Linked DNA regions of Homo sapiens: all the other regions are linked to region 1. The links are contacts of gene promoters, found by promoter capture Hi-C in blood cells and fetal thymus (Javierre and others, 2016). All regions are on one chromosome and are shown on one strand. The core of a region is centred on a gene start or on the middle of the fragment in contact, and the rest is flanking DNA. Distances in the headings are between cores, read along the strand shown. Region 1 holds the start of SLC10A4 (solute carrier family 10 member 4). Region 2 has its middle 32 kb from the start of OCIAD2. Region 3 has its middle 30 kb from the start of CWH43. Region 4 overlaps TEC (tec protein tyrosine kinase). Region 5 has its middle 8.0 kb from the start of OCIAD2. Region 6 overlaps TEC (tec protein tyrosine kinase). Region 7 has its middle 14 kb from the start of CWH43.

Region 1 (3,875 bases), core at 227-2,726:
GTAACGGTTGGGTAGCATGGATCATTGTATATCTGAATATCTTTCTTTTTACCTACATAAGGTGACATGTCAACTTAAAATATTTTTGGTCACAACCCACTTCCTTTAAAGTTTAGCTCACTGAAGTTTTTTTTTCTGGGTTTAGTGTTTTGGAAAAGTGTAAGGGTACATTATCCTCCTAGATTCTTGCAAAAGCTCTGCCCTCGTGGAATTTACAGTCCAAAAGAGAAAAAATAAATTATTTGTGATGAAGAGTGCAATATGCTTTGCATTTGCAAAGTCTTACTTTTCATAGTCTCCATCATCTTCATGAGATTTGGGGAGGAGGAAAGGCTCAGCCCACCCTTGGGTAATAGAAGTCACTCTGTGCCAGGACAGGAGTTAGGGAAAAGTTCCCAGATAGAAGAATTCACTATATCTTGGCTCCTTGTGAAAGCAACCCTGGGCTAAGACTGAGCCTTGATTTCATTCTAGAAATTCCTGTTGGTTTTTACAACTCAACTGACTATCACTTTATGGTCACCCCCAGGGAGCTAGATGCCTCCTTAACAGGCCCCACCTGGTTGGTAAGCAGCGAAATTATTTTCCTTTCTACATGCCATCTAGTGACTGACTTAAAAGTTGTTGCATCTCCATTCCTAAGAGCTCTGCTTTTGAATTGTTTTGGGATAAACCTGTCTCAAGCAGGGAATCTCAGCACTTTATTTCTTTTCAGTCCTTTAATCCTAATGCCAGGGCCTTACTCATAAAGCTTCGTAAATCTGTGGCCACTGAAATATCCTCTCTCCACCTGCCAATAACTTCTTAAACACACATTTTTCATGGAAATTGTTATTAGCCAAGCTCTTCTCTGCCCTCTTTAGGGACACATCGCCGTGCAGATTCAGCCAGGTACTTGTGGGTTCGGTTGATAAGACTGAGAATTCCTCGTTCCTCAGTTTCCTCGTTTGTAAAAATCGAGCTTGTAAAAATGGTATCTATCTCACGGCTTTGCTGTAAGAATCGAATGAAATAATGCACACGCACTTGCACAAAACCCGCTATATTATTATTACATTCTACTTTAAGACTGAAAATCATGCAAAAAATTGTTTGCAAATTCAAGCCAGATATCGTGTCCTGCTTACTAGAGAATCGCTCATATTAAGTCAAGCACCCCTCTTAGGGCTGCAGGCTATAGGAACAGTTTCTGCCATGAGCGTGCATCGATGAGGTTATCCACCCGCCCCCTCCACTTTGTGTGTCTGGGTCTCCAGATTTCATTATAAAGAGGCAGAGCCCATCAGAGAACTTGATCGGCAGCCAGGAACGGTTTTTTCCTGCTCTGGTCCTTTGTCAGGTCTTTGTTCCGCCCCTGGCTACACTCGATAACAGAACCACTTACTGGCGATTCACAGGAGGGGACCGGGCGGCAGGGCGGGGCGGGGCCTGCGGGGCGCGGGGCCGCGGCGCGGAGCCGGCGCAGCGATTGGGTTCACCCGGGGGGCCGCGCTGCGCGGAGTGCCAGGCTGCGGGCGGCTGCAGACCTGGGAGCGGAGACCGGCCCGCCGCCCCCGACGCCGCCGAGCACGTCAGCGGCGCGCAGCCGGGGCTCGGAGACCGACGGGCAGAACGACGGGCGGCGACTGCGGCGACCGCGGGACGGCGAGAGGCACGCGGCGGGAGGGGACCGGAATCCGCAGCTCCGGCCGCGCCATGGACGGCAACGACAACGTGACCCTGCTCTTCGCCCCTCTGCTGCGGGACAACTACACCCTGGCGCCCAATGCCAGCAGCCTGGGCCCCGGCACGGACCTCGCCCTCGCCCCTGCCTCCAGCGCCGGCCCCGGCCCTGGGCTCAGCCTCGGGCCGGGTCCGAGCTTCGGCTTCAGCCCCGGCCCCACTCCGACCCCGGAGCCCACGACCAGCGGCCTCGCGGGCGGCGCGGCGAGCCACGGCCCTTCCCCGTTCCCTCGGCCCTGGGCGCCCCACGCGCTCCCGTTCTGGGACACGCCGCTGAACCACGGGCTGAACGTGTTCGTGGGCGCCGCCCTGTGCATCACCATGCTGGGCCTGGGCTGCACGGTGGACGTGAACCACTTCGGGGCGCACGTCCGTCGGCCCGTGGGCGCGCTGCTGGCAGCGCTCTGCCAGTTCGGCCTCCTGCCGCTGCTGGCCTTCCTGCTGGCCCTCGCCTTCAAGCTGGACGAGGTGGCCGCCGTGGCGGTGCTCCTGTGTGGCTGCTGTCCCGGCGGCAATCTCTCCAATCTTATGTCCCTGCTGGTTGACGGCGACATGAACCTCAGGTACGGATCTGTCTATTCCTTGGGCATCTGTCTCATCCCAGACGCGCGTTTACGGCCGTGGGCTCACGACGAAGGACAGAGGCAGTGGAGGGGTTGGAATTAGGCGTGGAGGAAGGAGGAGAAAAGGAGAGGAAGTTGATGACGCCCCGGCTTTAGAAGTCAAGGCCGACCTGCAGGTTGTGCTGCTAGGGGAGCAAGCTAGACGGCGAGGGAGCTGCTCCAAGGCTGGGATTCCATGCGCAGCGCGGCCCTTCAGCAGGGTCCCTCGCCGTCCTCCCCGAGCGTCGGGGTGGCAGCGCAGGTCGTTGTCCAGTGGAAGACAAAGAGAAGGGGGAGTCTGAACTAGAACTCGCCGGCAACGTAAAAGTAAAATAGGGCTACTGGCCCGTCAGAGAAAGTAATCTCACATAGAGTGCAGGATTGTTGAGTCCGACCAACAAGTAGCAGTCAGCAGCTTTACCATGGCTTACCTTGCAGGGGGCTTGCAAGGAAGAACGTTCCTTCCCCTCAGAATCATCCAGGCTCAATAGACTTTATAATGTCGAGGGCAGCAGTACCGAGACAGGGGGCTTGTTTTTCCTCCCTGCCTTGGGTTCATAATTCCATCGGTGTTAGACGTGCTGCTCTCTTGGCACTCTCCTCGGATGTAGGTTCTGCCCAGACTTCAACCCCGGGACTTGCAGTCTCCCCGTTCCACCTCTACTCAACATACAAGAAAAAGGTTAGCTGGCTGTTTGACTCAAAGCTCGTTCTGATTTCTGCACATTCCCTTTTCTGCAGCATCATCATGACCATCTCCTCCACGCTTCTGGCCCTCGTCTTGATGCCCCTGTGCCTGTGGATCTACAGCTGGGCTTGGATCAACACCCCTATCGTGCAGTTACTACCCCTAGGGACCGTGACCCTGACTCTCTGCAGCACTCTCATACCTATCGGGTTGGGCGTCTTCATTCGCTACAAATACAGCCGGGTGGCTGACTACATTGTGAAGGTAAGGCCCCCTCTTCCCTTTCCATACTAGCTTGGAGAGCCCTTGATCTCTGACCCACAGCAGAAATGTTAGGAAGTTTGGAGAAGGCGGAAAGGAAGAAAAGGACTTGGAAGTAGTTGCATGGATAAAATTTTTTTTAAAAAGTTTATGCTACAAAGATAACTTCCACTTTTGGGATTCCTAGAATGACAGCTTTAATTAAGACACAGCTTAATCAAAACCAGCATAAGAGAACTATCAGTACTCATTGGAAGGAAACAGATCATAGCAGGGTGGGGAAGATGACAGTGTAATTAAATGGCAACATATTTTCCACTAATTGTATATAATTAAACATAAAAGCAGATTAAATAAAATTACTTTAATAGAATTGGTGCAGTATTTTAGAAATGCATGGCTATCTTTTCAAAAATGGAACTCTAATTCTGAGAAACTCTGTAGTAGGTTCCTTTAACATTTTATTAAATTTTTAAAAGTAAGTTGATACTAATAGGACAAAAAGTAATGGAAAAGTTACATTGTAGTAATAGAACACACAAAATATTGGCTTTAAAGCACAAAATAAAATTGGGTCCTGGATAAATAATGGAGGTTATGTT
Region 2 (3,776 bases), core at 887-3,386, 460 kb after region 1:
CATATTTCAAAGAAGTGAGATTTTACCAAGATTAATGTGGATGAATTTGAAGACATGGTAGCTGTGAAACAGCTCATCCTAGACAGCTATCAGGTCGAACACCCCCAATCATGGCCCCCTGGACAAGTGGTGGGCCCTGTACTTATGGGGGCTCCCACTGTTTTGCCCCTCCTTATTCACACCCACCAATAAAGCCTACTTCCTAACCCCCAAAATAAAGAAATAATAATATTATTTATCTTTATATCATCTTTTAGTGTCTTTTTTTGTGCACGTATTGTAATGCTTGTAATACATTGGTAAGTATACATAATGGAAGTATGGGCTGAACATTTTTTGCTGATTAGAGGGTCACAATCAAAAAGCTGGTGACCACTGATTTGTACTGAGACTGACATGTCCAGAAGTCCATCCAACTTATGAAGAAGACATGTGGATGGTGGCACAGCTTGGACTCTGTAATTCAAGACTGTAAAACATTTCTCACTCTACGTTTTATGACCTATAACACACGATTACATGAACTAGGGAAAGGATTGTGCTTTAGAAAGTCAGGTAAGTGTATTTGCATTTCCATTATCAGGAAAAACTCCCTCCATCCTCATTCCTCAACTTCTAGGTTTTTCCTAGGACTAGATTTAGGGACTAGATTTAACAATCTTTCAATCAAGTTTGTTTTCTTTGTTACTTTCACCTGGTTCGACATCTAAGTAAATCAACATTGCTAATCTGTTAGTTTTTTTTTTTTTTTTTTTTTTTTTTTGAGATGAAGTCTCGCTATATCGCCAGGCTGGAGTGCAGTGGTGCGATCTCAGCTCACTGCAACCTCCGCCTCCTGGGTTCAAGCAATTCTCCTGCCTCAGCCTCCGGAGTAGCTGGGATTACAGGCAGGCACCACCACGCCCAGCTAATTTTTTTATTTTTAGTAGAGACAGGCTTTCACTATGTTGGCCAGGATGGTCTCCACCTCCTGACCTCGTGATCCGCCCACCTTGGCCTCCCAAAATGCTGGGATTACAGGCATAAGCCACTGTGCCCGGCCACCTCTTAGTTTTTTTGGAACAAAGGGAATCTGAAGATTTTTCAGAGTCAGGAAAGAATTTTGTTAGGATATTAAATGTGGGCAATGTTTATTTTTAAGTCTACAGATCTGAAGTTACCTTTTTCAAGAACAAAAACACTCTTTGGTTTGCTCATAGATTGATTATTCCTAGTATATTATTTTAAAAGTACTTTATTTTAAAAAGTCATATTTAATGCATAGAGTTATTGCAAAATATAAACAGGAGGCAAAAATGAAATGAGGTATAAATGTGTGCTAAATTCTGCTGTAGTAATAGACAACCTCCTAAATCTCAGTGAGTCAATGCACCCCCAATTTTTTTTCTCATACTGCATGTCTAATGCAGCTTAGCAGGTGGAGCTCTGCTCACTGAAATCTCTCAAGGACTGTTAGAACAATAGCCCCCAAAGATATCCACCTCCTAATCCTGGGAACCAGTGAATGTTTCCTTACATGGTAAAAGGATCTTTGCTGACGTGATTACATTAAGGATATTGAAATAGGGAGACTATCTGGATTTTCTAGGTGGACCCAATGTAATTACAAGGGTCTTTATAAGAAGGAGGGAATAAAGTCAAAGGCAGTAGTAGAAGATGTGGCCCCAGAAGCAAGAGGTTGGAGTGATGTGAGGAAGGGGCCACAAGCCAAGGAATGCAGGCAGCCTCTAAAACTGAAAAAGACAAGGAAGTGTATTGTACAAATGAAAGCCCGCATACTTTATGTCTAAGTATTCAGAGGTTGTAAATTAAACCATACCCACAATCTCTGGCTTGGTCCTGACCTGGGCCACAGTGGTCCCCAGGGACTGTCCTGCAACCTAGAGGTTGAAGAGCCCCAGTCTGCCAGCCTGAGTGGAAGCACAGCTCTGCCTGGGCAGGCAGGGTAGACGGGGGTCCAGGCTCAGACAGCTGTGAGTGAATTCACCTGCCTGATCCTGGGGCAGGGACTGACCTGGGCCAAGCTTTTCAGGGAGTTCTCAGCGCTCAGTGCCTTTACCATCAAAGCAGAAGAATGTCACTGTTAAATGGCTTTGGGAAACCCTGCTTGTTAACTTCCCTGCGCACCTTCTTGCGGATTCATAACTTATATTACACTATATAGTAAAGGTTCTGACAGATCATAAGATATAAAAACCTGCTTAGCTTTGTTTAACTCAGCATTTTCCACATGGAATACGTTTTTGGGAAAGCTTCCTTTTTTTTTCATAAGTCTTAGTAATATCCTGCTTTCATAAGTCAGAGTTCTTCAACACACCTAAGGAACTGCTGTTTCTGGAAAGGTTTTTGGACCTAAAATGCAGAGCACTGAATGAATCATACTCCTTAGTTCCTGACATACAATTATCAGTTGTTCCTACAAGGACCCATTGTCATTCATTCATTCATTTATTCAGAGTCAAATCAGGCACAGAAAGCACAGTATCTTAGGGCTCATGATACATTAAGGGGCCCAGGAAAGTGTTTTAATTTCTTGTAAGTCAGAAGTAAAAATGTACTTTTAGGGCAAAGAAGTTTTTATTTTAATTTTATTTATTTATTTATTTATTTATTTTTAATAGATACAGGGTCTCACTATGTTGCCTAGGCTGGTCTTGAACTTCTGGCCTCAAGCAATCCTCCTGCCTTGGCCTCCCAAAGTGTGATTACAGGTGTGAGTCACCATCCCTGGCCCAGAGAAAATGTTTTAATACATAATATTAATATATTTATCTTTATACCAACACAGTTGTAAAATATGATTTTTAAATACTTTTCTAATGGAGGAAAGGACCCATGAAGGCGAAAGGGACTCGGGCCCACGGAAATTGGAATGCAGCCATACATTTATTTACTCCCTTTATTTTATATCCTAGTCCCATTGTCTCCAATCAGTAATACTTTTAATGTGTATGTTTATTTCTCTTTGAATGTGTCTTTGAAAAGCATATATTACTGGTTTGCATATTGTTTAAGTGATATTGTATTTTATATTGTTCTGTTTCTTGCGTTTTTCACTATGTACCATATTTTAAAATCAATTTCTACTGCTCTAAGTATGTCCAACTAATTGCTTCTACCCACAGCAAAATACTCTGTGGTGTACCTGCACCACATTTTACCCATTCACTCTCCCAGTGATGCCATCTCCTTGCCACCACCATGCTGCAATGATCCACCATGTACATTTCCCTCTTCAGCCTGCCTGGGAATGTTTCCAGGATATGTGCTCATCAGTGGAATTTCTGAGTCAGAGGGCACCTGCATACTTAATTTGGTTATGTAATGCTAGAAGTCTCTCCAAAATAAATGCTGTTTTCATATTTTTCTTTTCTGTGCTGGTCATTTTGGGGTTTGCTGTAATTTATTTTAGCTTTGTAAAATAAATTGGGTAATTCTTTTTTAAATCCTGGAACATTTTATATTGCATTGGAATTAATTATTCTTTGCAAGTGTGAGACTATAGGCAGTATGACTACTTGATGCCAAAACCCATATGTAGAGGCAATTCTTGAAAATATTTTCAGTTTCTTCCTTGGCTATTGGTTTGAATAAATTTTTATTGTTCTCAATCTGATGTTGGCATCAGGCAGGAATAACTAGGTCCATGAGACACAGACACAAAGATATGTATTTTTTTGGTTTTGTTTATGATTTTGTGACTTGCTGTAATACCTTAGGAAGGCTCTCTGTGCCCATGTGTACTCAATTGCACTATTGATGGGCTTGAAATGATT
Region 3 (3,480 bases), core at 666-3,165, 470 kb after region 1:
TACTATTATTTTTAAAGCGAAAGTTATTCTTAAACTAATAATGCTCTTTGTTCTTAAAATGTCAGGACATTTCCTTAAGTTCTGGGTCTTATTTAGTTAGCATCGTTAACTCATTCCTTCAACCATAACCATCTTGTGACCAAGAGTGCCTGACTTCCTGGGAATGTCACCCAGCAGGTTTGGCTTTATTTGGCCTTTATCCAGATGGAGTCATTCTGGTTAGGATGCCTCTAACATTAGTACATCTTAACTATCATGTCCTTTACCTCATTCCCCTTTTCTGCTCCAGGCCTCATTTCTTCCAGGCTAATTGAAACACACACACACACACACACACACACACACACACACGCACACACACACACACACAATCTCTTTTTTTAGCATAAAGCTTTCTCTTCTGTATCTGCAGACTGATCATAGGGATACTTACCTTTTCTGGGCATGACAGTGAAGGGTTTCCTCTCTGGATAGTGTTATGTGAAGGGCAGGTAAGCACTTTTAGTGCAAAAAGCCAGAATTTTCTTTTCTTTTCCTTTTCCCTTTCCTTTCCTTTCCTCTTCTCTCCTCTCCTTTCCTTCCTTCCTCCTTCCTCTTTCCTCCTTCCTCCTTCCTTCTTCCTCCTTCCCTTCCCTTCTCCTCCCTCCCTCCCTCCCTCCCTCCCTCCCTCCCTTCCTTCCTTCCTTCCTTCCTTCCTCCCCTCTTCTATTTTCAGACAAAGTCTCACTCTGTTGCCTAAGTTGGAGTGTAGTTGCTCAATCTTGGCTCTACCACCTGGGTTCAGGCGATCCTCCTGCCTCAGCCTCCCTAGTAGCTGGGACTATAGGCATGCGCCACCACACCTGGTTAATTTTTGTATTTTTAGTAGAGACAGGGTTTTACCATGTTGGCCAGGCTGGTCTCAAATGCCTGACCTCAAGTGATCCACCCACCGTGGCCTCCCAAAGTGCTGGGATTACAGGTGTGAGCCACTGTGTGCAGCCAAAAGTCAGAATTTCTTAAATAATCTTGAAATATGCATTTATTCAGTCATGGATCTATACCATACTCTGTGGAATACAAACATGAAAAAAAACCAAAGACCTGTTTTGCTGCATTATATTCTAACAAGGGCTCTCAAACATTCTCACATATTTCTTCATAGTTGTTTATTGGACTACACTCCTAGATAGCAAACTCCTCAAAGGCTGGAACCATCTGTTAACCTTCCCAATGCCCACAATACTTTGCATAAAATGGCCTCATTTTTTAGAATGTCCTACAGGAAGTGCACATAAAGTGCTGAGGAAAGTCACAGGAGGGATGGGTTTCTTCTCGCTGGAGAAATCCAAGAAGGCTTCATGGAGAGCATGGTTTCTGTGTCAGGCTGTGAAGGATGAGTAAGATCCAGGCATGTAGAACTGGAAAGAGAATTATAGGAAAATAGAAAATGTACAGACACGAAATAGTGTGAGGCATGGAAAGGAAATCTTGAATAAAGTTTACGACGAGTTTGAAACAAAGTTTGAAATAGAATGAGGGACTTTGAAAAGGATCTCATCAGGTGGCCTTACCTTCTGAGTAAGGAAAGAAACAAGATTGTCTTCAAAAAAGGAAAGGAATAGGAGTGGAATGTGGGTCTGAAGGAGTGTGGAGAAGGTTTGGCTGTAGGATGAGGGTTAGACACTCAAAGACATTAAGATATGAGGTCTTGTAGGCCTGGCATGGTGGCTCATGCCTGTAATCCCAGCACTTCAGGAGGCCAAGGCAGGCAGATCACCTGAGGTCAGGAGTTCGAGACCTGGGGGACTCGAACATGGAGAAGCCCCGTCTCTACTAAAAATACAAAAAACAGCTGGGCATGATGGCAGGTGCCTGTAATCCCAGCTACTTGGGAGGTTGATGCAAGAGAATCGCTTAAACCTGGGAGGCAGAGGTTGCAGCAAGCCAAGATCATGCCACTGCACTCTAGCCTGGGCAGCAAGAGTGAGACTACATCTCAAAAAAAAAAAAAAAAAAAAAGTCTTGAGGTGTTAGTTGGTCACACAAATGGAGATATCTACAATATTAGACCATCCAGTTATAATTCAACTAATTTATTTGGTAGAGTGTTATGCACAATGTTTTACATTTTCATAATTTATATTCTATTAAAAATTAAAATATAGTATACATTCATTTCTTCATCTTCTAGCTGACAAATCTTAAATAAATATTATTTTAAACTCTAGGGACACAACAGTGAATACAGTACACAAGATTCCTGCATTTTTGAATATGTCCATTCTAGTGGGGAGAGACAGAAAAAAAAGTAACAGAAACAGAAATGTGTGTAATAGTGGCAGAAACAAGTATAATTAAACATCATTAATGTAAAACTATTCAAAATAATACACGAACGTAAATAAAGGCTATTTTCTAGCTAACTAAATCACCAACTGTTTTCTGACACAGATATTCAAAAATACGAACACAGTGAATTTAAAGCCTATCTTCTCTAGAAGAAAAGTCAAATTAATAAGGTTTTATTGTTATCAAGGTGTCAGAGGCATGTGAACCAGAGCAACTCTGTCTTAAATAGGAGCTGGGTAAGATGAGGCTGAAACCTACTGGGCTGCATTCCCAGGTGGTTAAGGCATTCTAAGTCACAGGATGAGATAGGAGGTCAGCACAAAATACAAAACCTGATAAAACAGCACAAAACATAAAACCTGATAAAACAGCTTGCAGTAAAGGAGACAGCCAAAACCCACCAAAACCAAAATGGTGACGAGGGTGACTTCTGGTCATCCTCACTGCTACACTCCCACCAGCGCCATGACAGTTCACAAATGCTACAGCAACGTCAGGAAGTTACCCTATATGATCTCAAAAGGGGAGACATGAATAATCCACCCCTTGTTTAGCGTATCATCAAGAAATAACCGTAAAAATGGGCAACCAGCTGCCCTTGGGGTTGCTCTGTCTATGGAGTAGCCATTCTTTTATTCCTTTACTTTCTTATAAACTAGCTTTCACTTTGCACTGAGGACTTACCCTGAATTCTTTCTTGCATGAGATCCAAGAACTCTCTCTTGGGGTCTGGATCTGGACCCCTTTCCTGTAACAAAGGCAGGAAGTTATTTAGCAAAATATGAAAGGCAATTTGAAAATGTCTGGGACACTTAAACACAAAACATATTTATAATTAATTTCCAGAGAATCATGCTGGGTCAGAAAGTCTTGGTAACAATAGATAACACTGTATTTTTTTCCTCTTCAGTGTATTTATGTGCATATTTAGATGTGTAAGATGCAAAGATATATAAGAGACTACTGTTACTTTTTTACTTTTACTACTTTTACTTGCAAAGAGCCTATAGGAGGAAACAGATACATCAGAAAGGTAACAAAATACACTACGTGATACTGGTTCCAACTACTGAGGAGAGTGTGTGGAGCCTTGACTTGAGGGCTGGGAGAAGCTTCACCAATGTCACAAATAACTTTTGAACTTGGCTT
Region 4 (3,388 bases), core at 695-3,194, 340 kb before region 1:
CCATCACAATATATACTTAATTTAATCTGAGAACCAGTTAACAAGATTTCCTTTCTGCTTCATCAGTGCAAATTATTCCCACACTTATTAATTCCACCAAAAAAATGCAAACATCACCTAAAACCACGTATACTTGGACATACCTGGCCATTCCAAAATCAGATACTTTTACAACTCCCGCCTCACTTACTAGACAATTTCTGGCAGCCTGGAAAACAACATTATGATGGTATATTAGTTTAAAAATTCTATCATTTAAGTAGGAAAATGTAAGTTCTATTTATATTAAATTTAGTGTAACCTAGTCAACATTTGCAGAGAGTGGAAACACCCTTTAATAAGTTGTTTTTACCCCTATGGAAGTATTTCCATTGTGTATTTGAAAAAAATGAATAGGCAGGTCAGAAAGTTGTATTTGCAATAAGGCATTATTACATAATCTTTACCAATTGTCTTTTTTTTTTCTTTTCTTTCTTTTTTTTTTTTTTGAGACAGAGTCTGCCTCTGTCGCCCAGGCTGGAAGTGCAGTGGCACAATCTTGGCTCACTGCAACCTCCACCTTCCAGTTTCAAGTGATTCTTCTGCCCCAGCCTCCAGAGTAGCTGGGATTACAGGCACCCACCACCACAGCCAGCTAATTATTGTATTTGTTGGCCAGGCTGGTCTTGAACTCCTGACCTCATCCATCTGCCTCGGCCTCCCCCATTGTTAGGATTATAGTCACGAGCAACCTCACCGGCCAACTGTCATTCTTAAACAAGGGCTAATAGAAGGGTCAACTCACTTTTCTCCTTCCCAGACCTGTTCTTATTAAACTATCCAATTTTCTTACTGACAATGAGAACATCTCTTGAAGTCCTTAATCCGGTTCTCACTAGGTGAGCTTAATAACACACAACCATCAAAATGATGGGCGACCAATCTCTTATCCAATATTTCTGCTCAGTGATTGGTCATCTCATCCCAGTCAAAGAACAGGCTGGGTGCAGTGGCTCACGCCTGCAATCCCAACATTTTGGGAGGCTAAGGCGGGTGGATAACTTGAGGTCAGGAGTTCGGGACCAGCCTGGCCAACATGACAAAACCCCTTCTCTACTAAAAATACAAAAAAAATTAGCCAAGTGTGGTGGCACACAACTGTAGTACCAGCTACCTAGGACTGGAGGCAGGAGAATTGCTTGAACCCATGAGGTGGAGGTTGCAGTGAGCAGAGATCGCGCCACTGCACTCCAGCCTGGGTGACAGAGCAAGACTCCGTCTCAAAAAGAACAGCTATGTGTAAATACAGTTTGCTTTTTCATTTATGTTCCCAGTATATTATAACATGATGTACAAAATTGGTCAAATACAATTGTGGATTATTTAATTTATATTTTCTTGCATGTTCTTCAAGGTTACAAGGTTTAAGAAAATAGTTTGATAGAAAGACGTGGTATTTCTCAAAAGGAAGACAAGAATTTTTTTTTAATTTTTTAATTTTTTATTTTTGAAACTGAGTCTCGCTCTGTCACCAGGCTGGAGTCCAGTGGTGCGACCTTGGCTCACTGCAACCTCCACCTCCTGGGTTCAAGTGATTCTTCTGCCTCAGCCTCCCGAGTAGCTGGGACTACAGGCGTCTGCCACCACGCCTGGCTAATTTTTTTTGTATTTTTAGTAGAGACAGGGTTTCACCATGTTTGCCAGGATGGTCTCGATCTCTTGACTTCGTGATCCGCCCGCCTCGGCCTCCAAAAGTGCTGGCATTACAGGCGTGAGCCACCACACCTGGCCGATAATATTTTTAATACCATAACCCATAGACCAAGATATGTTTTTCTTCCTGACTGTTCATAATTCTATTTTCTCTATGTGGCAATTCCACTCATATGAGGTTCCTTCTTGCTGAGTGCATTTTAAGAGTCTTATAAAGTGAGAGTTAATATCCATTCCCTGGACTGCCTGCATCTTCCTATGAAAACACTTCACAACTCCACAATGCCTGCACTGGATGGTCAACAGGATTCTTTACCAAGGAGACAAGAGCATCCAAAGTTTCCCATAAGGGGTGACACAAACCTACCATAGTAATACCAATATCACAGGCACAGAAATGTAAGAATCGTTTTTGCCAAAACATCATCTGTGTGGACAGGTGTAATCTGCCACACCCACGTAGATACTCAGTTTTTATCAGTTTTATAAGGACATCTATTTTGTTCTTAGTTCTTAGTTCACAAGTTTTAACTGACGAGATGTTCTTCATCATCCCTGACACAATGATAACAATAACTGATGTTATCTACAGCATGTCTATTTTACAAAGCCCATTGCCCCAGTCAAATAATGTGACCTTTAAAACAGTCCTGGAAGCCAAACAACATTATAACCCACAATTTACAGACACAGAAACTGAATATAAGATAAGGTAAGTATCCCAAAACACACCTAGGAAATAAAGTGTTCCATCTCCAAATCTTCAATTCTCTAATATGTTTTAATTCTAGAGAGCATAGCATAGTAGTTAAGTAGGGACTTTAGAGCCAAACTTCCTGGGTTCAAATCCTGGCTCTACAATTTACTTGCCCATTGGAAGTTATTTTATCCTATTTGCACCTCAGTTTCCTCATCTGTAAAAAGGGAATAATAAGAAAATCTACTTCCCAGAATTATGATTAAACAAGTTTATTTGTAAAATACTTATCAGAACAATGTCTGTCTAAGGTGACTGTTAACTTTAAAAAATGTTTTGCTAAGGCCAGGTGCAGTGGCTCACACCTGTAATCCTAGCACTTGGGAGGCTGAGGCAGGCAGATTGCTTAAGCTCAAGAGTTCGAGACCAGTCTGAGCAACACGGTGAAACCCCATCTCTACAAAAATTAGCCAGGCATGGTGGCACGTGCCTATAGTCTCAGCTACTTGGGGGCTGAGGCAGGAGGATCGCTTGAACCCGGGAGGTTGAGGCTGCAGTGAGCCAAGATTGCGCCACTGCACTCCAGCCTGGAAGACAAAGTGAGACCTGTCTCAAAGGAAAAAAAAATTTTTTTAAAGTTTTTCTGCTTTCTAAAAGAAATGTGTCCATGCTTTATCACTAGAAAGCTAAAACTAAAATATGGGAGAAAGTCCCAAATGAAAATTACACTCTTCTTGGTAAAAGAATTATTTTCAGGGGACAGACAGTGCTACCGATATGCTGAAAACAGACATTTTCAGCTGATTATTTTCAGGGGACAGAGTGCTACTGATAGCTGAAAGCATCTGTAAAGAACAGGTAGAGAAGAAAAACAGAAGGAAAAGAAGAATGGAGGAGAGAGTGAGAACAGGTGAGAAGGGAAAAATTGTCTCCATCATAATTTAGAACTGGTAACGGATTTCTTTTTCTAGCATTTTGAGAAGTTAACATGAACCTCCA
Region 5 (3,586 bases), core at 246-2,745, 430 kb after region 1:
CTTGGGAGGCTGAGGTGGGAGGATCATGTGAGGCCAGCAGTTCAAGACCAGTCTGGGCAACACATGAGACCCTATCTGTACAAAATACCAAAAAGAATTTTAAAAATCAGCCAGCTGTATTGGCACATACCTGTAGTCCCAGCTGCTCAGGAGGCTGAGGCAGGAGGATTGCTCAAACCCAGGAGGTTGAGGCTGCAGTGAGCCATGATTGCTCCACTGCACTCCAGCCTGGTGACAGAGGGAGATCCTGTCTCAAAAAAAAAAAAAAAAAAAAGCAAGTGGAAATCTAGATTGATGCCCACAGGAGCCCAGAGCTCACCCACAACCACCTTTTCCTGCTCTATAGAAGGGGCTCTGGCTGGATTCCTGGTGTGGAGAGGTTTCATGTGTGTGTCGGGGACATCTTGGGTGTTCATGGAGTGGCAAGAGCAGTCCTCGGCATCCTGCCATTCTTTTTCTTATTCCAGCTCAACTTGCCATCTGCGTACCTCTGTGAGAGGCTCTGTGAATCACAGGATCTCGTGAGTCACTCATTCCCTCTCTGAGGAATAAATTATATCAAGTCTCACAAAAGCAGAGCAGTTGGGTTTAAATGAGGTGTCACACAAAGATGGACTGCAGGTTCTGCTTTCCCTTATGAGCTGGCACGGCTGTTGGGTGAGGCACGTTGCCAGTTCTCAGCCTGAGCTTTTGGGCCATCAACCCAGAGTTCTGGCTGCTTCAGCTTCATCTAGATTTGATGTTCAGAATGCCAGACTCAGCAAGAGGTGAAACAGGCCCCAATGATCATAATTTTGACCCAAATGGGGAAAGGCTGAAGAATGAAGATGAGAGAATATTGATTTGCTTGTGTCTCCAGTCTGCATTGCGTCAGGCCTATCCTTTGTTATCATTTTTTTTTTTTTTTGAGATGGAGTCTCACTCTGTCGCCCAGGCTGGAGTGCAGTGGCACAATCTTGGCTCACTGCAACCTCCGCCTCCTGGGTTCAAGTGATTCTCCAGTCCTATCCTCCAGAGTAGCTGGGGCTACAGGCGTGCACCACCACACCCGGCTAATTTTTGTATTTTTAGTAGAGACGGAGGTTTCACCATATTGGCCAGGCTGGTCTTGAACTCCTGACCTCAGGTGATCCACCTGCCTCGGCCTCCCAGAGGCTATCCTTTATTTAACTCACAACTGCTCACAATAGACATCCTGAAAGTAAATTTACTACTTTAATGTTCCAAAACTGCTTTCCGTAGTCCATGATACGCAAAGCCTTTGAATGCAAAAAACAGAATGTTCCTGGTGTAGCAGAGAGAATATGTGGTTAAGCAGAGGACAGTGATATCTTACGGCAAATGTGTTGACCCCATGACAAGTGTGCATTGTCAGCTTTGTGTCCTAGTATCTGTACTGAGCCTCTCTTTAGATAGCAAGCTTCTCACCTGGCTATGGTGAGGGTGGGAGAAAAGCAATTTGATTTGCTGGTGAAAATGACTCACAGCAAGATGTAAATGCGAACCACAGATTTAGCTCCTTGCAGGGCATAATTCCATTTTAGATGAGAGGCTTAGTAATCAAAACCTAATAAGCTTAGTAATCAAGATCTTGATAGAGTGTTGGGGGAAGACTCGCTTTCACAGAGGAATTTTTGAGAATCCCTGTGTTACCCTAGTCAGCCCACTTTTTCTGATTCACTTGTCTGAGCATTAGGGAAACAAGCTTCAGTATCCTGGCAGTCCACTTGGGGAGGGGCCTAAGCTGTAACTGCTCCAGGCAGTTCAATTCCAGCTTCCCACTTGATAGTGCCTCTCAGGGCATCTTTGCACTGTGTCCACCCTATACCCTCTGACAGGCACCTACATGCTCTGCCATGGCAAGTTTATGACTTTTCTTTGGGTCCCATTGAAGATATCCCTAAAGCCTAGGAATTTAAGCAGGGACCCAGACTACCTGGGCTCAGTTATAGCCCCACTCCATATCTTTATATAAATAATTGCTTGGCACAGTGCCTGGCACATAGGGAGTGTTGTTTAAGTGTTCATAACCATTTCCTCCAGGGAAACTCTCCCTCCCTGGTCCCTGAGGCAGGAATCTCTCCTGTGTGCTGTATTTTGATGACCTCTTTACTCGCCTCTATTCTAGGATGTGAGATACCTGAAGGCAGGGGCTGTCTTTCTTACCTTCAATTCTGTGACTAGAAAACCATATTGAGATTTTAATTTGAGTTACATACTCTTTCAGCAGTCTGAACAAATGGTAAGGATTCTCTCTTCCCCATTCCAAGAAAGTCACCAAGTGTCCTTAATTTCAGGATTAATGACTTTGGCACTATAGGGATAAACAAAGAGTTCAGGGATAAAGCATGAAACAGGCATCTGGAATATCACCCCTATATAGAATTTTGTTGTAAAAAAGAAGCCCCAACCAAGAGAGGAAGTGGGCCAACCCTGGAGGGAAGATTCTGAAAGCTTTTCAAAAGACTGGGAGCGGGACAGAGGTGTTCAGGTCCTGTGGTACTGGAGACCAGCACTTCCCTCCCACAGCTAGTCTGTGGCAGGACCTCATGGCAGAAAAGCTGCATGGTCCCCTGAGAGAGAAGGTTCACCAAGTCTTTAATTTCCCAGCCGCCAAAAGATCTGGGACTGGGCCACTGCTTTCAAGGGACCACGTGGATTTTGACACTGAATACCTCAACCAGTTCAGTGTGACCAGAAGAGATCAGAGGATCTTCTAGAATGTTCTAGATTGTGCCAGATCCCTTCACTTGACCCTAGGAAAAAGGGTTCCTGCCCCCCATCCCCACCAAATTCTTGAGATTGAACTTCCTGAGTGAAAGGGGACTCTGAACAAATGTAACTTTATTTAGAGACACAAAAGTACATGGCCTTTTGGAAACCCTAGTGAAGTGAACTAAAATTCACATCTATAGCATGTCCACAGTCCTGGCTAAGGCAGGTCATGTAGAATATTTGGTGAGTAAGTAAATAATGGAAGTACCTGAAATCTCTCCAGTCTATTTTAATAATCCCATAGCAACATTTTTTATTTACCTACCTTGAATAAAGGTTTTCCACGGCCATTTCCTGAGTCTTTAAAGCACATGCAAATGAATTGTCTTTGAACAAGGATTCAAAAGACTTTTATCACTGCAAGCTAGCAACACGCTGAATTTATATCTCCCCAGTATTACATTGTTGGTTGCTAATGTGACTAAGCCTTGCTACTTTACACTTTGTCTATGAATAGATTGAAGTCTCCAATGAGAACTTGCATCCCAAAGCCCCACCTAAAACGATAAAGCCTCAAAGGCAAAAACCCAAAATCTTACTTCTTATATTGGTATCCATGTCACAAAGCTGCCTTGTGTCTACAATTCCTAATCCTTGCTCAGAATTTAAGTTAGTTGGGCTATTATTTTTTTCTAGTCTCAATTACTTGTGGTTATTCATACAGGGATCACCTAAATGAATTAAATCTAGAGATAATTGAACAACATTCCTTTAGTCCTTAGTTTCTGCTCATTCTCCCCTCTAGTCTTCAGCTGTTTTTTCTAGGCTGCTATACCAGCTGCAGATTCAATTTATTATCTTTTATTATCTT
Region 6 (3,726 bases), core at 710-3,209, 300 kb before region 1:
AAGGTAACCCTGGGAGGTTAGGCAGGGCTGCGGAAAAAAAGGATTGGAAGGGCTGGGCACCGTGGTTCACTCCTGTAATCCCAGCACTTTGAGAGGCCAAGGAGGGTGTATCATGAGGTCAGGAGTTCAAGACCAGCCTGGCCAACATGGTGAAACCCCATCTCTACTAAAAATACAAAAATTAGCCAGACATGGTGGTGCGCACCTGTAGTCCCAGCTACCTGGGAGGCTGAGGCAGGAGAATAGCTTGAACCTGGGAGGCAGAGGTTGCAGTGAGCCGAGATAGTGCCACTGCATTCCAGCCTGGGCAACAGAGTGAGACTCTGTCTCAAAAAAAAAAAAAAAGAAAAAAGAAAAAGAAAAGAATTGGAAGGGATAAAGGATTCACCATAGGGAACAGAGAGTTACTGAGTGAGGCATGCTATCCCATGCACTTTCTCCCCGAGCCCACTTTAACTCCTGACATGCCAGCTTTTTAAAGCTTTTCCACAGTGGGGCCCTTTAGGAATAAAAGCTTTAGGAAATGATTTCTGAGCAGTTACCGTAGAAGGAACTCACAGTTTCTCCTCCATTTAGACTATTCTTTAGAATTTCTTCAGTAAGAAAATACTTCATGATTCATGGCATATGCTATATGCTATTGTTAATATTGTGGCCCATCTGGGTGGAGTTGCTCATGCCTGTAATCCCAGCACTTTAGGAGGCCAAGGCAGGCAGATCACTTGAGGTCAGAAGTTTGAGACCAGCCTGCCCAACATGGGAAAACCCCATCTCTACTAAAGATACAAAAAAATTACCCAGGCTTGGTGGCAAATACCTGTAATCCCAGCTACTCTGGAGGCTGAGGCATGAGAATCTCTTGAACTCAGGAGGTGGAGGTTGCAGTGAGCCAAGATCGCACCACTGCCCTCCAGCCTAGGTGACAGAGCGAGACTCCATCTCAAAAAAAAAAAAAAATTGTGGCCCAAGGGGAAATATCCAAGGTCATTACTTTTTTTTGTGTTATATTTCCTTTCTATTCTATAGCCTTTGCCCTGCTTACTAGACTGAAAATCATGATAAAGCTGAGACTTTCCCTGACTCACCTTTGAATCCTCTATGAATCTGCCGAGCTAAGAAGACCACCTGACACTTAGTGGATACTAATTCAACAGTGTGCTGACCCAGTATGCAAAGGACCATGGGCAATACTCTGTGTGTGTGTGTGTGTGTGTGTGTGTGTGTGTGTCCTCTCTTGCACACTTTGCAAAGCTTGAAAATGGAAGTAAGCAATGACCATTTTATATATTGTAAACCAGCGTATATGGGAAAATGAGGCATTAAGATGAAATATAACTTGCTTTAAACTACACATCAACTGAATGGCAGAACTCGGAGTTAGATGGATGAGATTCTGTCCCCCAGCAAGACTTACAAGGTACACTGTTTTCCTTTAATTTCCAGAATACTCTGTATTTTAATAATACAAATATCCATCCTAATCTAAAGAAATTAAGTGAGAAAAAAATGTATACAAATAACCAGGCTGGTCTCAGGTGATCTGAGAAGTCATTTATCTCAGGACACCCTCTTGTCCTTTTCCCAAGGCATCCAGAGTCCCCACCACACACAGGGAAAGGCTTGCCAGGGTGTCCCTCCAATATTCCAAATGATTCGTCCCTTTCCCACATCACAAATTTTATTCCTGATGTGGCTGTTCCCAGGGTCTTGTGGCAGAGGAAATCTCCTGGGTGAATCATGTCTGCATTGCAAGAGGACCTCAGAGAAGGAGCATGAGCTTTGGAGACAAGCAGATCCTGACTTCTAGCCTCTGCTTTGCCACTTATAAGCCATACGACCTAGGGCAATCCCAGTTTTCTCTCTGTGCTTCAGTTCCTTTCTCCGTAGAAATAGGACAATGCTGCTCTCTTTGCCAAGCTATCAGCAGGATTAAAGATAATGTTCATAGGTGCTTAACAGTGTCTGACACATGGAACTCTGTGATGGTTAATTTCATGTGTCAACTTGAGTAGGCTAAGGGATACTCAGACGGCTGGTAAAACGTTATTTCCAGGTGTCTGTGAAGGTGTTCCTGGAAGAGATTAGCATTTCAATCAGCTGAGTGAGTAAAGAAGATCCACCTCTGCCATCGCAGATGGGCATCATCCAATCCGATGAGGGGGCAAATAGAACAAACAAAGGCAAAGGGAAAGCGAACTCTTTTCTTAAAGCTGGGATGTCCATCTTCTCCTGCTCTCAGACTTTGGTGCTCCTGGCTCTCCAGACTCCAAGGCTTCCACCAGCAGCCTCCTCCCCTACTCCTGGTTCTCAGGCCTTTGGACTTGGTCTGAATTACACAATTAGCTTTTCTGTGTCTCCACATTGCAGATGGCAGATTGTGGGACTTCTCAGCCTCCATAATCTATTGCGTGAGCCCATTTCCATAATAAATCTCCTCATATACATCTATATGTATCCTATTGGTTCTGTTTCTCTAGAGAACCCTGATTAATACAAACTCACTCCCCAAATAGTAGCATATACTGTCAGTTTTCACAGTAACCCTAGGAAGTTGCAGGAAACTGAGCACTGAGAGGCTATGAGACTGGCTAAGGATTGTAGAGGCTGAGCCAGAATTGAACTAAAATCCCTCAAAAACAGTAATGCTTTTACCTGACTCCAGGTCTGTAAAGCTTGAATAGTTATGGACTTTTATTATTAAAAAAAAGAATATTATCATGTCCATAGCTAACAATTATAGAACACTTACTATAAACCAGCAATACATTAGCCTCTTAATGTGGATAATCTCAGTGAATCCTCACAGCATTATAACATGAGAATTACTGTCACCCCCATTTTGCAGATGGAGAAATCAATACATAGAGAGTATAATTAACTTGCCCAAAGTCACACAATAATCCAGGATTTGAACTTTAATTCCAATCCTGAATTTGTAAGTGCCACCTATACCTAAGTAACTTGGTATCATTTAACTATGTGCAAACATAAATTCAGTAGAAATTTCTTAAACTTATAGCTTGTATACAACTATAAAATCAAAGAAAGTTCACAAATTAAATACAAACAAAACTATACAGCAAATAAAGTGAAATTAACATTACTTGGATGTGACAGATGGGGTGTTGGCTGGAATTGAATCTCTCCGTAAGTAGTTCTCTTGCCATCCACATGCTTATATTACTGTGTGCCACATGACACCCTCTCCCACCTCTTTTCTCAATTCAATTATAAAGAACCTCTGTTTGTACATATATTGCTATCCTATCATTAGGCCTCATTTTGCACCACTGAATTGTTTTGTGTTCAGTCTGTCTGTGTTCTTTCTCAACAGGCCACAACAATTAAAACAGATCTCAAACACAAACCCAAAGCAGACTGCTGAAATGGCATGTTTAGCAACAAAGGACCAGGCAGACAAAAAAAATACACACACACACACACACACACACACACACACACACATTAAATATTATTGAGGGATAAAATATTTCATCAAATTAAGAAGACAAAATTTAGAACTTGCGGTCTTCAACACATGCATAGCACTAAACCTGTGGCTAACATTCATTGCATTCCCTCACGACAATTTGTATTTAGTTTGTGAACTTGGTTTAGTCCTTCAGCCATGTTCATTAAATATTGACTGCTGTGTCCTTTTACCATCTGCAAAGCACAGATATCAAAGTACCATAATAGAGACTTGAAAACACACACACACACAAT
Region 7 (3,737 bases), core at 1,135-3,634, 490 kb after region 1:
ATTGAAAGAGCACAGATGCAGCTGGATCGTAAAACAGAATGAGGGGCTCAAATGCTGCCGAGAGTCTTCTTCCTCCCTGCTTTTCCTTTATTTTTTATTTTTGTTTTTCTGAGATGGGGTATCACTCTCTCACTCAGGTTGGAGTGCAGTGGTGCAGTCTCAACTCACTGTAACCTCAGCCTCCCAGGCTCAAGCAATCCTCCCACCTCAGCCTCCTGAGTGGCTGGGACCACAGGTGCATACCATTACTCCTGGCTAATTTGTTGTATTTTTGGTAGAGACGGCTGGTCTTGAATTCCTGGGATCAGGTGATCCACCTGCCTTGGTCTTCAAAGTACTGAGATTACAGGAATAAGCCACCATGCCTGGTCCTTTATTTTTAATTGACAAGTAAAAATTGTGTATAGTTTTGGTGGTGCACACGTGATAGTTTTTTCTCTTCTTCTTCTTTTTTTTTTTTTTTGAGACAGAGTCTCGCTGTGTTGTCCAGGCTGAAGTGCAGCAGTATGATCTCGCTCACTGCAACATCCACCTCCTGGGTTGAAGCAATTCTCCTGCCTCAGCTTTCTGAATAGCTGGGATTACAGGTGCAAGCCACCATGCCCAGATAATTTTTGTATTTTTAGTAGAGATGAGATTTCAGCATGTTGGCCAGGCTGGTCTTGAACTGCTGACCTCAAGTGATCTGCCCGCCATGGCCTCCCAAAGTGTTGGGATGACAGGTGTGAGCCACCATGCCAGGCCGATATTTTGATATATGTATACATTTTGGAATAACTAAATCAATCTAATCCAAGGAACTTCTTTCTTCTCTGCCCTTTTATTAATGTAGAATTCATTTTCTTCTGATACAAGCCACCTTACTCTGCAAGGTGGGAAACACAAAACACCTCCCCTGCTTTACATTACATGACCTCCTCACCAAAAAAGATAAAAACAGTTCTGAAGCCTAAAGCTGCCAATATTGGCCAGGTGTGGTGACTTATGGCTGTAATCCCCACACTTTGGGAGGCTGAGGTGGGAGGGTCACTTGACCCCAGGAATTCAAGGTTACAGTGAGGTATGATTACACCACCGCTTGGGCAACATAGCAAGGCCCTGATATGGTTTGGCTCTGTGGCCCCACTCAAATCTCATCTTGAATGGTAATCCCCATGTGTCAAGGGAGGAACCTGGTGGGAGGTGATTGGATCATGTGGGTGGTTCCCCCATGTTGTTTTCATGATAGTGAGTGGGTTCTCATGAGATCTGATGGTTTAAAAGTGTGGCGCTTCCCCCTGCTCCTCCTGCCGCCATGTAAGAGGTGCCTTGCTTCTCCTTCACCTTCCATCATGATTGTAAGTTTCCTGAAGACTCCCAGCCATGCAGAATGGAACTGAGAGTCAATTAAACCTCCTTTCTTTAGAAATTACCCAGTCTCAGGTAGCATCTTTATAGCAGTGTGAAAACAGGCTAATACAAACCCCATCTCTACACAAAATTTTAAAAAATTAATTGGATGTGGTGGTGCATACCTGTAGTTCTAGCTACTTGGGAGGCTGAGGTGGGAGCATCACTTGAGCCTGAGCCCAGGAGTTCAAGGCTGCAGCGGGCTATAGATTTTGCCACTGTACTCCAGCCTCAGTGACAAAGGGAAATCCTGTCTCTAAATAAATAAATAAATAAATTACCAATATGGACAAAGTTCCCCAGGAAGACAATCAGGCCAACCTTCAAAAATCATTAATGATTTGTGGAGTGAAGTTTCTTCTGGGGAAGTATGGTAATATTGTGCTTCAAACTTCATATAGCCTACAAAACAGAAGTAATGGTTAGTGGCACCCAACATCTGGGTTACTAAGTGAAGATATAATAAAAATTAAGAGGCATGTTTATGTCACACCATATGCTTAAAATCTAATAATAGTAATGATGCAGACATATAGGTACAATAAAATCTGTGGGAGGTGTCATGAAATTAAGGTTAAACACAAGGGTAAAATAAGGATGGACTGTTCATGCAGTCAGATGAGTGCATTCTGGTCAATGGGTTGGAAGTAGAAGTCAGGTATGCAACTTTTAGGGAATGTCCTGAAAGGGTGGTCCCCTGTCCTTCTCCTTCCTTTTTCTTATTCTTGTAAGTTAGACTGAGAATGTGAAGCTTGAAGCTGAAGCAGCTGTCCTGAACCATGAAACGAAGGATGCCTGTTGAGGATGGTGAGTACCCGGATAGAAAGAGCCCAGGCTCTTGACACCTGTGGAGCAAGCACACCAGCCCTGGATTACTTATGGCAACCTTTATGTGACAGAGATAAAATCTCAATTTCGTTCAAGTCACTATTATTTTGGAATTCCTCTCACACTTGGCTAAACCTGGGGATGAATAATTGCAATATGGTGTTTCCTATTCTAATAATTTTTCAATCTCAATGGATTGTACTAACATGCATGGGGTAGAATTATGACATTTGCAGCCATGAAAGGCCTCAAAAAAAACTTACTTCCCATGCACTCTTTCTCAGGAAGCTGCTGGAGTAAACCAGTCAAGAGGAAGACATAGGATCCTATAAAGAGGGAGTCGAGTATGGGAGAGAGATGAAGCAATGTCTCCAATGAGGCTGAAGGGAAGTTCAGGACAACAGCCCTGCAGCAAGCTTGGAAAGCAGATTGCCCAGATTGGAGCAGAAGAGCAGAGAACACCAGGAGGGATGACTTCAGAGAAAAAGGGAGCTGATAGAATACCTCATGGTCTTGATGGTCCTGAGGTTTTACAGGACTGGAGGATAGTTTGGGAATGAGTTTGTGATTGTCACAGTTAAGTAAACAAACAAACAAACAAATTAACAAAAAATCAATTATAAACGAAAGAGAACACAATAATTAGATGAGAAATAAAATATAATTAAGCGTTCTGCATGATTAGCAGTGATGCAATCTTAATATGATAAACACATTATTGATTTAATCAAAATTTGAGAAATAGTTGAAACAACTATATTGAGTGGGAGAAGGTGTGTGTATGTGGGGGGTATGCGTGCATGTTATGTATCTGTGTGCATGTGTTTCTAGGGGAGAAGCACTGTAAGAGATTTAACCCTTCATCTTCTACAATAAAAACAATGATGTCAAAATATTTAAAAATCAAGAAAAAGCAATATGGAAGTGAACGCTGAAAAAATAGCTATGAAGATGTTTGCCCCTGACGAATAGGAATTAGGGATGGGATGGGTAGGGCCAGGAGAAAGAAGTTTTGTCCTTACTGTGTGAATCTTAGAACTGTTTTGATAAAATTAAAAATTTCACTGTGATAAAAATAATAACTTAACAAAATAAAATAAACTTTTTGACTATATAATCTTTAAGCTCCTTGAAGTGATTGGATGGAATGCAAGAAAAAGAAATAAAGGGGAAGGGAGAGTATTATTGGGAAGAACCAGTCTGTAGAACAAAAATCCCAGCCTAAAATGATTTATGCAGCTTTGTCTTTGTTATCTATCAATAAGAAACAATGTTCATTTGTTCACTCATTCATTCATTTGCACCCACCAAATATCTGCTGAGCACCTGGTATATGCCATGCTCTGCTACTGATTATCCGAACATCAAAGATGAAGCCAGGCACAGTGGCTCACACCTGTATACCCAGCACTCTGGGAGGGTGAGGCAGATGGATCATCTGAGGTCAGGAGTTTGAGAACCACCTGACCAACATGGTGAAACCCCATGTCTACTAAAAAAAATACAAAAAGATTAGCCAG

What was found. The method cuts DNA at HindIII sites, captures the fragments that hold promoters and counts their contacts. A CHiCAGO score of 5 or more calls a contact.
Region 2: a fragment that was not itself captured here is called in contact with the fragment with the promoter of SLC10A4 in region 1 in 3 of 17 cell types (M1 macrophages, total CD8 T cells and M0 macrophages); the score reaches 6.0 in M1 macrophages.
Region 3: a contact is called between a fragment that was not itself captured here and the fragment with the promoter of SLC10A4 in region 1, in 13 of 17 cell types (endothelial precursors, erythroblasts, total B cells and 10 more). The highest score is 8.2, in endothelial precursors.
Region 4: a fragment that was not itself captured here is called in contact with the fragment with the promoter of SLC10A4 in region 1 in 1 of 17 cell types (erythroblasts); the score reaches 5.2 in erythroblasts.
Region 5: a contact is called between a fragment that was not itself captured here and the fragment with the promoter of SLC10A4 in region 1, in 1 of 17 cell types (M1 macrophages). The highest score is 5.9, in M1 macrophages.
Region 6: a contact is called between a fragment that was not itself captured here and the fragment with the promoter of SLC10A4 in region 1, in 1 of 17 cell types (erythroblasts). The highest score is 5.6, in erythroblasts.
Region 7: a contact is called between a fragment that was not itself captured here and the fragment with the promoter of SLC10A4 in region 1, in 6 of 17 cell types (endothelial precursors, monocytes, naive CD4 T cells and 3 more). The highest score is 8.1, in endothelial precursors.

What each region holds. Positions count from the first base shown.
Region 1 is chr4:48,481,867-48,485,741 of GRCh38, forward strand. SLC10A4 (solute carrier family 10 member 4) reads left to right here and starts at 1,477. Exons shown (of 3, transcript NM_152679.4): 1 at 1,477-2,285; 2 at 3,066-3,276. The coding sequence starts at 1,696. RefSeq lists a cis regulatory region at 1-142 and silencers at 1,397-1,446, 1,527-1,656. The HindIII fragment of the contact is 5,112 bases long and covers 750-3,875 here.
Region 2 is chr4:48,936,736-48,940,511 of GRCh38, forward strand. No RefSeq gene overlaps it. Among named protein-coding and RNA genes, the nearest start is that of OCIAD2, 32 kb to the left of the region's middle. The HindIII fragment of the contact is 228 bases long and covers 2,023-2,250 here.
Region 3 is chr4:48,954,770-48,958,249 of GRCh38, forward strand. No RefSeq gene overlaps it. Among named protein-coding and RNA genes, the nearest start is that of CWH43, 30 kb to the right of the region's middle. The HindIII fragment of the contact is 3,052 bases long and covers 390-3,441 here.
Region 4 is chr4:48,141,212-48,144,599 of GRCh38, forward strand. TEC (tec protein tyrosine kinase) reads right to left here. Exons shown (of 18, transcript NM_003215.3): 15 at 144-208. Among named protein-coding and RNA genes, the nearest start is that of TXK, 8.7 kb to the left of the region's middle. The HindIII fragment of the contact is 5,689 bases long and covers 1-3,388 here.
Region 5 is chr4:48,912,978-48,916,563 of GRCh38, forward strand. No RefSeq gene overlaps it. Among named protein-coding and RNA genes, the nearest start is that of OCIAD2, 8.0 kb to the left of the region's middle. The HindIII fragment of the contact is 155 bases long and covers 1,419-1,573 here.
Region 6 is chr4:48,181,343-48,185,068 of GRCh38, forward strand. All of the region lies in intron 2 of TEC (tec protein tyrosine kinase), which reads right to left. Among named protein-coding and RNA genes, the nearest start is that of TXK, 49 kb to the left of the region's middle. The HindIII fragment of the contact is 1,421 bases long and covers 1,250-2,670 here.
Region 7 is chr4:48,970,868-48,974,604 of GRCh38, forward strand. No RefSeq gene overlaps it. Among named protein-coding and RNA genes, the nearest start is that of CWH43, 14 kb to the right of the region's middle. The HindIII fragment of the contact is 493 bases long and covers 2,139-2,631 here.